Linked DNA regions of Homo sapiens: region 1 is linked to region 2. Evidence: promoter capture Hi-C in human tissues and cell types (Jung and others, 2019). All regions are on one chromosome and are shown on one strand. The core of a region is centred on a gene start or on the middle of the fragment in contact, and the rest is flanking DNA. Distances in the headings are between cores, read along the strand shown. Region 1 overlaps LOC105372323 (a long non-coding RNA gene). Region 2 holds the start of ZNF43 (zinc finger protein 43).

Evidence for each region. Contacts are between HindIII fragments. The study calls those that stand out against the background at their distance.
Region 1: a fragment that was not itself captured here is called in contact with the fragment with the promoter of ZNF43 in region 2 in 1 of the 25 tissues and cell types used here (pancreas).

Annotation. Positions count from the first base shown.
Region 1 is chr19:21,606,780-21,612,221 of GRCh38, forward strand. All of the region lies in intron 3 of LOC105372323 (a long non-coding RNA gene), which reads left to right. Among named protein-coding and RNA genes, the nearest start is that of ZNF429, 100 kb to the left of the region's middle. The HindIII fragment of the contact is 3,721 bases long and covers 1-3,682 here.
Region 2 is chr19:21,832,377-21,837,825 of GRCh38, forward strand. ZNF43 (zinc finger protein 43) reads right to left here and starts at 3,806. Exons shown (of 4, transcript NM_003423.4): 1 at 3,660-3,806. The coding sequence starts at 3,662. RefSeq lists enhancers at 2,897-3,870, 3,400-3,489, 3,530-3,579, 3,600-3,759, 3,871-4,843. The HindIII fragment of the contact is 27,139 bases long and covers 1-5,449 here.

The DNA of each region.
Region 1 (5,442 bases), core at 572-3,071, 230 kb before region 2:
TCCATTTAACCCTGAGTGGACACAGCACATGTTTCAGAGAGCACAGGGTTAGGGGTAAGGTCATAGATCAACAGCATCCCAAGGCAGAAGAATTTTTCTTAGTACAGAACAAAATGAAAAGTCTCCCATGTCTACTACTTTCTACACAGACACAGCAACCATCCGATTTCTCAATCTTTTCCCCACCTTTCCCCCTTTTCTATTCCACAAAACCGCCATTGTCATCATGGCCCGTTCTCAATGAGCTGTTGGGTACACCTCCCAGACGGGGTGGTGGCCGGGCAGAGGGGCTCCTCACTTCCCAGTAGAGGCGGCCGGGCAGAGGCACCCCCCACCTACCAGACGGGGCGGCTGGCCGGGCGGGGGCTGACCCCCCACCTCCCTCCCAGATGGGGCGGCTGGCCGGGCGGGGGGCTGACCCCTACCTCCCTCCCGGATGGGGTGGCTGCCGGGCGGAGACGCTCCTCACTTCCCAGACCGGGCGGCTGCCAGGCGGAGGGGCTCCTCACCTCTCAGACGGGGCGGCTGCCGGGCGGAGGGGCTCCTCACTTCTCAGACGGGGCGGCCGGGCAGAGACGCTCCTCACCTCCCAGACGGGGCGGCGGGGCAGAGGCGCTCCCCACATCTCAGACGATGGGGGGCCGGGCAGAGACGCTCCTCACTTCCTAGATGGGATGGCGGCCGGGCAGAGACGCTCCCAGGAGAAGGGGTTTAAAGAAATCAAAAAAGCTTGACTCAGGCCCCAGCTTTAGGACTGCCGGATAAACTAACTAAGCCTATCTTCTTGTATGTCCACAAGTGAAAGGGAGGCCATAAGGGTTCTAACTCAAGCCATAAGTTTATGGCATCACCCAGTGACATACTTATCCAGGCAATTAGACTTTGTGGCACTTGGATGGCCTCTTTGTTTTAAAGCTATTAAAGCACTAGCTGCCACTGCCCTACTGGTGCAAGAAGCTAATAAACTGACTTTAGAGACTGTGAATAGCCTAAACCTGGCTACATTGCTCCTCATCAAGTCAGTGCCAGGAGACCCCTTTCATTTCTGTGTCAACATGATAGATGAAGTTTTCTCAAGCCAGAGAGATTTGATAGCCCCTCAGGGAAACTGGACATTAAATATTTTACTGATGGAAGCAGTTTCATACTAAAGTTTTATGAAAGACTTTGTAAGGCATTTTGATTGTGCACTCCATTTAACCCTGAGGCTGCTGAAAATCAGTGATTTTCACTAAAATCACTAAAGGGAGTCTGCCGAGCTGGGTATGCAGTGGTGACTTTGGACTCAGTAGTAGAGGTGCAGTCTCTGCCTACAGAAACTTCTGCTTAGAAAGCAGAGCTAATATCTCTGACAAGAGCTCTCTGGCTAGCAAAAGACCAAAAGACAAATATTTACACAGATTCCAAATATGCTTCTGCCACTTTGCATGTTCATGAGGTGATTTACAAAGAAAAAAGACTTTTAACTGCTGAAAGTAAAGAAATAAAGTACAAGGAAGAAATTCTACAGCTCTTAAATGCTGTATAGGACCCAAAAGAGGTGGCAGTGATGCACTGCAAGGGGAACCAAAAAAGGAAGAACACTAAAGGCTAAAAAAATAAAAATAAAAAAGCAGACAAAGAGGCAAAGCAGGCTGCAATGACAACTCCACCTTCTAAAGAGGAAGTCTTAGCTATGCTTCTCTTCCCAGAGATTCCCCTCCCGGAGATCCCAAGCTATGCTCCAAGTGAAAGGGCTTGTTTTGCCCAGAAAAATAAGAACTACACTAAAGGAAGATGGTAAAAATTCTCCAGTGGGAGGCTAGCCATACCAGAAATGGTGACCTCCAGATTTGTAAAACAATTCCACCAAAGAACTCACATAAAAAAAAAAAAACAGCACTAAAGACATTATTAAGGCATCATTTCTATGCACCATGGCTCACTGCTATTACTCAAGCCATTTGTAAACAAACAGTGTTTAACTTGCACTCAGAACAATCCATGACAAGGAGGGCCTACTCCGCCCCTGGGAGTTCAGGAAACAGGAGCCAGGGAGCCGTGCCCTGTGAAAAACTGCTTATAGACTTCACCTAATTGCCCTGAGAGGGAGGGCTATCAGTACATGTTGGTGTTCATTTGCACCTTTTCAGGATAAGTCAAGGCCTTCCTCACCCAGACAGGGAAGGCACTAGAGGTGACCAAGGTGTTGTTAAAAGACATTATTCCCAGATTTGGACTGTCTCTAACTCTAAGATCAAACAATGGACCAACATTTGTGGCTGAAATAGTTCAGGACTTTACTTGACTATTAAAATAAAGTGGAAATTACATACAGCCTACAGGCCGCAGAGCTCAGGTAAAGTGGAGTGCATAAACCAGACACTCAAACAGCTGCTGAAGAAATTTTGTCAAACTCATCAAAAGTAGGATCAGGTCTTGTCTGTTGTCCTCCTCCGAGTCAGGTGCACTCCCACCAAACAACTGGGTATTCGCCCTGTAAGATTTTATTCAGCCAGCCACCCCCCATCATAAGTCAGATTAAAGGTAATCTCTGTAAACTAGAAGAACTAACTTTAAGAAGGCAAATTCAGGCTTTAAGTATGGCCATGCAAAAATGCATGGCTAGGTATAGAAAAAAAATGCCTATAAGTCAAACAGACCCAGTACACCCTTTCAAACCTAAGGATTTTGTTTAAGTTAAAAAATGGAGGCAGGGTGTGGTGGCTCACGCCTGTAATCCAAGCATTTTGGGAGGCCAAGGCAGGTGGATCACATGGTCAGGAGATCGAGACCATCCTGGCTAACACGGTGAAAACCCATCTCTACTAAAAATACAAAAAATTAGCCCGGCATGATGGCGGGCCCCTGTAGTCCCAGCTACTCAGGAGTCTGAGGCAGGAGAATGGCGTGAACCCAGGAGGTGGAGCTTGCAGTGAGCTGAGATTGCGCCACTGCACTCCAGCCTCGGCGACAGAGCGAGACTCCATCTCAAAAAAAAAAAAAAAGGAAAAAAAATGGAATCCAACCACACTAGGACCCATATAGGATAGGCCCCATATCGTGATCATGCCTAGTCCCACTGCTGTTAAAGTTGCACGTTTCACACCTTGGATTCACCATAGTCGGCTGAAACCAGTGGCAGCAGTGACTCCCAACGACGAACAGTGGATTAGCCAACAAGACCCAGATTGCCCCACCCGAATAGTCCCATGGTGAAACCCAACCACCGGTAAGAAGGACAACTGCCCTGCTCTGACCACACTGGAGGCTGGTCAGTCTATGCACGGCTGAAGCTTGAGGATCCTGTAAGCTCTGCTCTAGTCACATCCTGGAAGCTGACTAGTCTACGCACAGCCAAAGCTAAGGGGACAATCTCCGGATAAGTAAATGTGGATACAATTTATAAGCCTAGTTATAATTCTGTCAATACTGATTGTTCTGTTGTTATGTTATTACTGCAAATACTGCAAACGTCTATGCCCAGAGGAAGGTTTGCCATGCCCATGTGTAGTGTAAGCATGTTTCTATTACATACACTGACGTTGTTACCATTTCTGCCTATACTAGAAGGGGAGAAATCCCTAGAAGAATGCCCACACTGTGTACACACTACCTGGATAAGGAATACCCTAGTTAAACCTCTACTGTACGTTACTGACTATGAATGTACAGGAACAAAGTTAGGAACCTGCACATACAACCGGAAACAGTCTGCAATAGTTTAACACAAGAGAGACTTAGCAGCAACAGTCCTAAACATCTGTACAGAAAACCACAAATCAGATGTCGAGACTGAACATTCAGTGGTCTATGCTAACACAGCTCCAACACTTACATTCAGGAAGGACTGCTCTGCTAATTAGTATGTCAACCAAACCAGATTGTAAGACAAGAACATACAATCCTTTAAATTTTACTATCTTAAAGCCAGAGCTACCTTCTTGGTCTACAGGACAGATGACACTATTATGAGTTGATAGACAAGGAGCAGAACTTGGAGTTCCACTACTAATTGTCAAAAAGACTAGAAGGACTCAAATGTATCCAACCCCACAATTCCAGGTCCATAAGTCATTCTATAAGCATTTTGATCAGTCAATGCTGAAGCTTCCCCCCATCAACCAAAAACTTATTTGCTCAACTAGCTGAAAACATAGCTGGCAGCTTAGGAATTTCCTCATGCTATGTATGTAGAAGAACTAATATGGAAGACCAGTGGCCATGGGAGGCAAAGGAATTAATGCCACAAGATCCCTTCACTTAACACTGCCAGTGAACCAACAGCCTCAGCCAGTGTTTGGTTGTCAACTACCTCCATAATTGGAAAGTACTGTATCACCCGATGAGGAAAGGCTTTCACAGAGGCAGTGTGAGAAACAACCTGCCTAGGGCAACAGTATTGTGATGAGACTAAAAACAAAACTCTATGGAGATCCAAACCCTTTCTCTCAATTCTCTACTCTAAGCCACACTTGGCATCAGCTAGAGGCTCCAAATTCTTGAAAGGCACCCTCTGGCCTATATTGGATCTGTGGAGCACAGGCATATCAGCAACTGCCAGCTAAATGGACAGGGGCATGTGCGTTAGGAACAATCAAGCCATCATTCTTTCTAATTCCTCTAAAGCAAGAGGAACTCTTAGGGTATCCAGTTTATGATAAAAATAAAAAAACAACTAGAAGCATAATAACAAAAAGAGACACAAATATCAAAAAAGATGTGGACATAGGAAACTAGAAAGATAATAAATGGCCTCCTGAAAGAATCATTAAATGTTATGGGCCAGCTACCTAGGCGCAAGATGGGTCATGGAGGTACCGTACCCCAATCTATATGCTCAACCGCATCATAAGGTTGCAGGCAGTCCTTGAAATTATAACCAATGAAACCTCAAGGGCACTAGATTTATTGGCAATACAAGCAACACAAATGAGGCATGCCATATATCAAAATAGGCTGGGTTTAGATTACCTATTAGCCTCAGAAGGAGGAGTATGTGAAAATTTTAATTTAACCAACTGTTGCCTAGAAATTGATGATAATGACCGAGCTGTCATGGAAATCACAGCTAGAATGCACGAGTTCACCTATGTTCCAGTTCAAACTTGATCTGGGTGGTCCCTGGATTCCTTGTTTGGAGGATGGTTCTCAACCTTAAAAAAAAAAAAATTAAAACCCTCATTGGTGGGTTCTTGCTTATTTTTGGCATCTGCCTCATCCTCCCTTGCCTTTTACCTCTGTTTATTAGGAGTATTCAGTCAACTATAGAGGCAATAGTAACCAAAAAAACTACCGTGCAGTTGATGGCATTAACAAGATTATCAGCCACTGCCAGTAGAAGAAGAAGCACAGCCCTGTGAAGAGGTGACAGATAGTGGTGCTTTCTGTTAACATCTTTGTTATAAAAAGCACCAAAGGGAGGAATGGAACAGGAATAAAAAGAAATTAAAGAATGTGTAA
Region 2 (5,449 bases), core at 2,556-5,055:
CTCAAAGTGAATTAAAGTCTTAAACTTAAAATGTAAAATTATTTTTAAAAAAACTTTGGAAGGTACCTAGGAAATCATTCTAGACATAAGAACCAGAAGATTTCATGATGGAGATACCAAAAGCAATTGCAACAAAAGGAAAAATTGACAAATGGGACCTAATTAAACTACAGAGCTTCTGCACAGCAAAGAAAACTATGAACAGACTAACTAAACAAGACAACCAGCCAGGCGCAGTGGCTCACTTTAGGAGGCCAAGGCAGGCAGATAACAAGGTCAGGAGTTCGAGACCAGCCGGGCCAATATGGTGAAACCCCATCTCTACCAAAAATACAAAAATTAGCTGGGCGTGGTGGCACACGCCTGTAATCCCAGCTACTCAGGAGGCTGAGGGAGAAGAATTGCTTCAACCTGGGAGATGGAGGGTGCAGTGAGCCGAGATTGTGCCACTGCACTCTAGTGGGGCAACAGAGTGAGACTCCATGTCAATTGAAAAAAAAAAATTATGTGGTAAACAATTAGTCATATGAAAACACTTCTAGGAGGTACCAAGTTTCATCTCATAAAATTTAGCATTAAACTCAGAAATCAAGATGATAGGATATAGAATACAGATAATCACCTCTACAAATTTACCCTGCAAAGAGAGTAACTGATGTTTTTATGAATCTGTGTAACTCACCACTTATATACCACGTTTTCTTATAAAAATGTATTAATTTTGTACAGCCAAATAAAATAGATTTTCCCTATTCTTTTCCTTGGTAGCATTCTAAAAGCTAAGCCTTGGAATTCTGTTGAAAATCACCCAGCCATAAAATAAAAGACACCTGAGAAGATTCCTAAACTCACTCTGGGAAAGAGAAAGGTAAATGATAATTTTTATTTTATTTTATTTATTTATTTTTTAAACAGAGTTTCCCTCTTGTCGCCCAGGCTGAGTACAATGGCGCGACCTCAGCTCACTGCAACCTCGGCCTCCCAGGTTCAAGCGATTCTCCTGCCTCTGCCTCCCGAAGTAGCTGGGATTACAGGCGCCTGCCCCTGCACCCAGCTAATTTTTTTGTATTTTTAGTTGAGACGGGATTTCACCATGTTGGCCAGGCTGGTCTTGAACTCCTGACCTCAGGTGATTCACCCACCTCGGCCTCCCAAAGTGTTGGGATTATAGGCATGAGCCACTACACCCAGGCTGTGACACTGTAGCACACATAGCCATGGTGGTTATCTTGGTTTATCCCTAGACAGTACTGAAACCCAGGATCAGAAAAAAAAAACAAAAACAACAAAATGAAGTGTGGCTGAGGAAAAATCACCCACATTTTTCGAAAGGAAAAACTTGACCTAAAAACATTCTGAAAAAGTCTCTGGCTGGGTGTGGTGGCTCATGCCTATAATCTCAGCACTTTGGGAGGCCGAGGCAGGTGGATCTCCTGAGGTCGGCAGTTTGAGAACAGCGTGACCAACATGGGGAAACCCTGTCTCTACTAAAAATGCAAAATTAGCCAGGCGTGGTAGTGCATCCCTGTAGTCCTAGCTACTCGGGAGGCTGAGTCAGCAGAATCGCTTGAACCCAGGAGGCAGAGGTTGCAGTGAGCTGAGATGGCTCCACTGCAGTCAAGCCTAGGCAACAAGAGCTAAACTCCATCTTAAGGCGGGGCGGGGGAAAAAAAAGAGTCCTGTGCCTAGGGAAAACAAAAAGAAAAAAGAGGCCAGGCATGGTGGCGGAGGCGGGTGGATCATCTGAGGTTAGGAGTTCGAGACCAGCCTGGTCAACATGGAAAAACCTTGTCTCTAACAAAAATACAAAAATTAGCTGGGAATGGTGGTAGGTGCCGGTAGTTCCAGCTACTGGAGTGGCTGAAGCAAAAGAATCACTTGAATCAGGGAGGCAGAGGTTGCAGTGAGCAGAGATCACATCACTGCACTCCAGACTGGGCAGCAAAGCAACACTGTCTCAAAAAAAAAAAAAAAAAAGTAAAGAAAAAAAGAAAAGGAAAAGAGGCACAGAGATTTTTATTTTTTACAAACAGTGTAAGGGGATTATTTTTTGCTTTCTTTTCAATATGGAAAATATTTTCAAATAGAAAACAAAATTTAGGCCGGACTCGGTGGCTCACGCCTGTAATCCTTGCACTTTGGGAGGCCAAGGCGGGTGGATCACAAGGTCAGGAGTTCGAAACCAGCTTGGCCAACAAGGTGAAACCCTGTCTCAACTAAAAATACAAAAAAATTAACCAGGCACGGTGGCAGGTGCCTGTAATTCCAGCTACTCGGGAGGCTGAGGCAGGAGAATCGGTTGAACCCGGGAGGTTGCAATGAGCTGAGATTGCACCATTGCACTCCAGCCTGGGAAACAAAGCGAGAGGAAGGATGGAAGCAAGGATGGAAAGATGGAAGGAAGGAAGGAAGGAAGGAAAGAAAGAAGAAGGAAAGAAGAAAGGAAAATTTATTTAAGTCCATCCAATGATTTTTCAAAAAATAATTAAAATATCTGTATCAAAAATATACAGATATCTAAAATATCTTTATCTAAAACGTATCTCTGTATCTAAAATGTACACTAAAAAAAAAAAAAAAATAGCCCGGCTCGGTGGCTATTTTTAAGTGCTGTAATCCTAGCACTTTGGGAGGCTGAGGCGGGTGGATCATCTGAGCTCAGGAGTTCGAGACCACCTGGCCAATATAGTGAAATCCCGTCTTTACTAAAAATACAAAAAAAATTAGCTGGGTGTGGTGGCAGGCACCTGTAATCCCAGCTACTAAGGAGGCTGAGGCAAGAAAATCGCTTGAATCCGGGAGACGGAGGTTGCAGGGAGCCGAGATAGCACCATTGCACTCCAGCCTGGGCAGCAAAAGCGAAAGTCCATCTCAAAAAAAAAAAAAAAAAGAAAAAAAAGAAAAAATAGTTGATAACGTGAATTGCGGAGAAGAAGGTGGCATTTGGGAATGTCAGAAATAAAGGAAAATCTAGTTTAGTTTTTTTTTTTTTTTTTTTCCAGAGGGAGTTTCACTCTGTGGCCCAGGCTGGAGTGCAATGGCGCGATCTCGGCTCACTGCATCCTCCGCCTCCTGGGTTCAAGCGATTTTCCTGTCTCAGCCTCCCTAGTAGCTGCGATTACAGGCGCGCGCCACCACGCCCAGCTAATTTTTGTATTTTTAGTATAGACGGGGTTCACCATATTAGCCAGGCTGCTCTCGAACTCCTCACCTCGTCATCCACCCACCTCGACCTCCCAAAGTGCTGGGATTAAAGGCGTGACCCACCGCGCCCGGCCGACTCTCCTGTTTCTAATAGACCAAAAGAGGGACTAGAAATGCCACGGACCAAAGCTCTTCCTATTCATGAAACTGCATCACGAGTCAGGATTCTCTCCTGACGACCCTCCTGTGGCCCCTGCACAATTTGGGAGAGACGCCGCGTTGCGGCTGCAGAGCTGCCCACAGAGGGCTGCAGGCCGGGACACAGTCACTGCGCAGAGAAGAGACAGGACGCCCGGGGCTGCCTCCCAGAGCAGCCGCCATCTTATGGCTGAAGGGGATTGAGGCCGAGCTGGGCAAGAACTCCGGCACGCGCAGATTGTGGAGCTGACTGCGGGAAGGCCTGAGTCACGCCACAGCCCCTTCCCCCTCTCGGGATGTCGGACCGGCACTCTCACCATTTCTAGGCTTCCGGGGGGTCCTGGCGTCTTAGCTGTGGATCCCCCAATACCCGCAGGTCACAGAGCCACAGAGGCTGGACCTCTAGCAGCAGAGGACACAGAAGAACGAAGACGAGACGCAGAGCTCCAACTGCAGCCAGAGACAAAGGCCCCGCCACATCCCGGAAGCCGCCCTGTCCTCTCCTGCCCCGTGCCTGATTGGACGGTTTCCAGCCCAGCGTCCCTGATTGGATAACTTCTAAGGTCCTGCCCCCGCAAACCCTGAATGAAAGATGTGATCAGACGCTGGGCTGAAAGAAGAAAGAATGACAGCCTAGGCTGCCGCCTTTTCAGGCAGGGCTTCCTCCCTGAGCAGAGCAGGCCCAACCCAGAGGGTATTTGCCTTTAACCTTGTGTATAAGGTCATCTTCACTTATAAGTAATATACTATATGGATACTAAAAAATGAAAACAATTGTTTTTGAATTTCAGCTTTTATGACCTTCCTGGCTTCTGGCCCTTTGAGTAGGAAGTATTACAAACATTGAATATTTTATTATTTATCCTCTGTGGGGTTTTTCTTATTCTTGAGAGGGAGTCTCTGTTACCCAGGCTGGAGTGCAGGGTCATGACTGCAGCTCACTGCAGCCTCAGCAATCTAGGCTTGAGCAATTTACCTGTCTCAGCCTTCTGAGTAGCTGGGACCACTGGCATGTGGCCCCATGCTCAGCTAATTTGTTATCATATTTTTATTTGTAGAGATGAAGCCTCACTAGATAGCCCAGAATGGTCTCAAACTCTTGGGCTCAATGAATCCTACAAAGTCAGCCTCCCAAAGTACTGGGATTATAGGCATGAACCATCACATTCAGACTGAATTATTTTATCAAAAAATTTTTTTAAAGCATTGAGGTCCATTAATAGAATTCAAGGAAATGTTATGCACATGTTTTAAAAGCAAATTAAAAAGCATATACAAAAAGAGAACATTTTTTAAAAAACTAAATATAGGTAATGTTACCAGAAAAAGTTTAGATCTCCTGACTTTAAGTTGCAGTATGCTAATGGAATATTCTTAGTGGATAGTATTCCATTTTCATAAGAAATTCAAAACAAGATAATTTCCAGGTTTTAGAAACTGATGTAAAACATAAAAATATAGAAAATCTCTAATGTGTTCCCATGATATAGTATTACTTGAAATATAAACTGGGCAAACTCAGCAAAAGACAATTTAATCTCAAATTTCAAAATAGGTACAGAAGTTCTAATGGAATAATAAATGGAATCCAGGATTTTATTCATAAAAAGGCTAAAAAGTGACCATTCTCTGTGATTTTGAAAGTAGGAATTTGTGTAAACAGATGTGTATTTGCATCTACATTTGCCTACACTTACTTTTTTTTTTTTTTTTTTTTTTTTTTTGAGACGGAGTCTTGCTCTGTCGACCAGGCTGGAGTGCAGTGGCACAATCTCGGCTCACTGCAACCTCCGCCTCCCAGGTTCAAGCGATTCTCCTGACTCAGCCTACCAAGTAGCTGGGGATACAGGTGCATGACCCCATGCCCAGCTAATTTTTTTATGATATATTCATTTATTCAGATTACTCGATAATTAAAAATTATATTTTCTATGAATACCAGCTAATTTTTTGTATTTTTAGTAGAGACAGGGTTTCACCCTGTTAGCCAGGATGTCTCCTGACCTGGTGAACTGCTCGCCTTAGCCTCCCAAAGTGCTGGGATTACAGGTGTGAGCCACCATGCCCAGCAGCTTTTAAACATTTTAGGAAAGCATGAGACATCAAT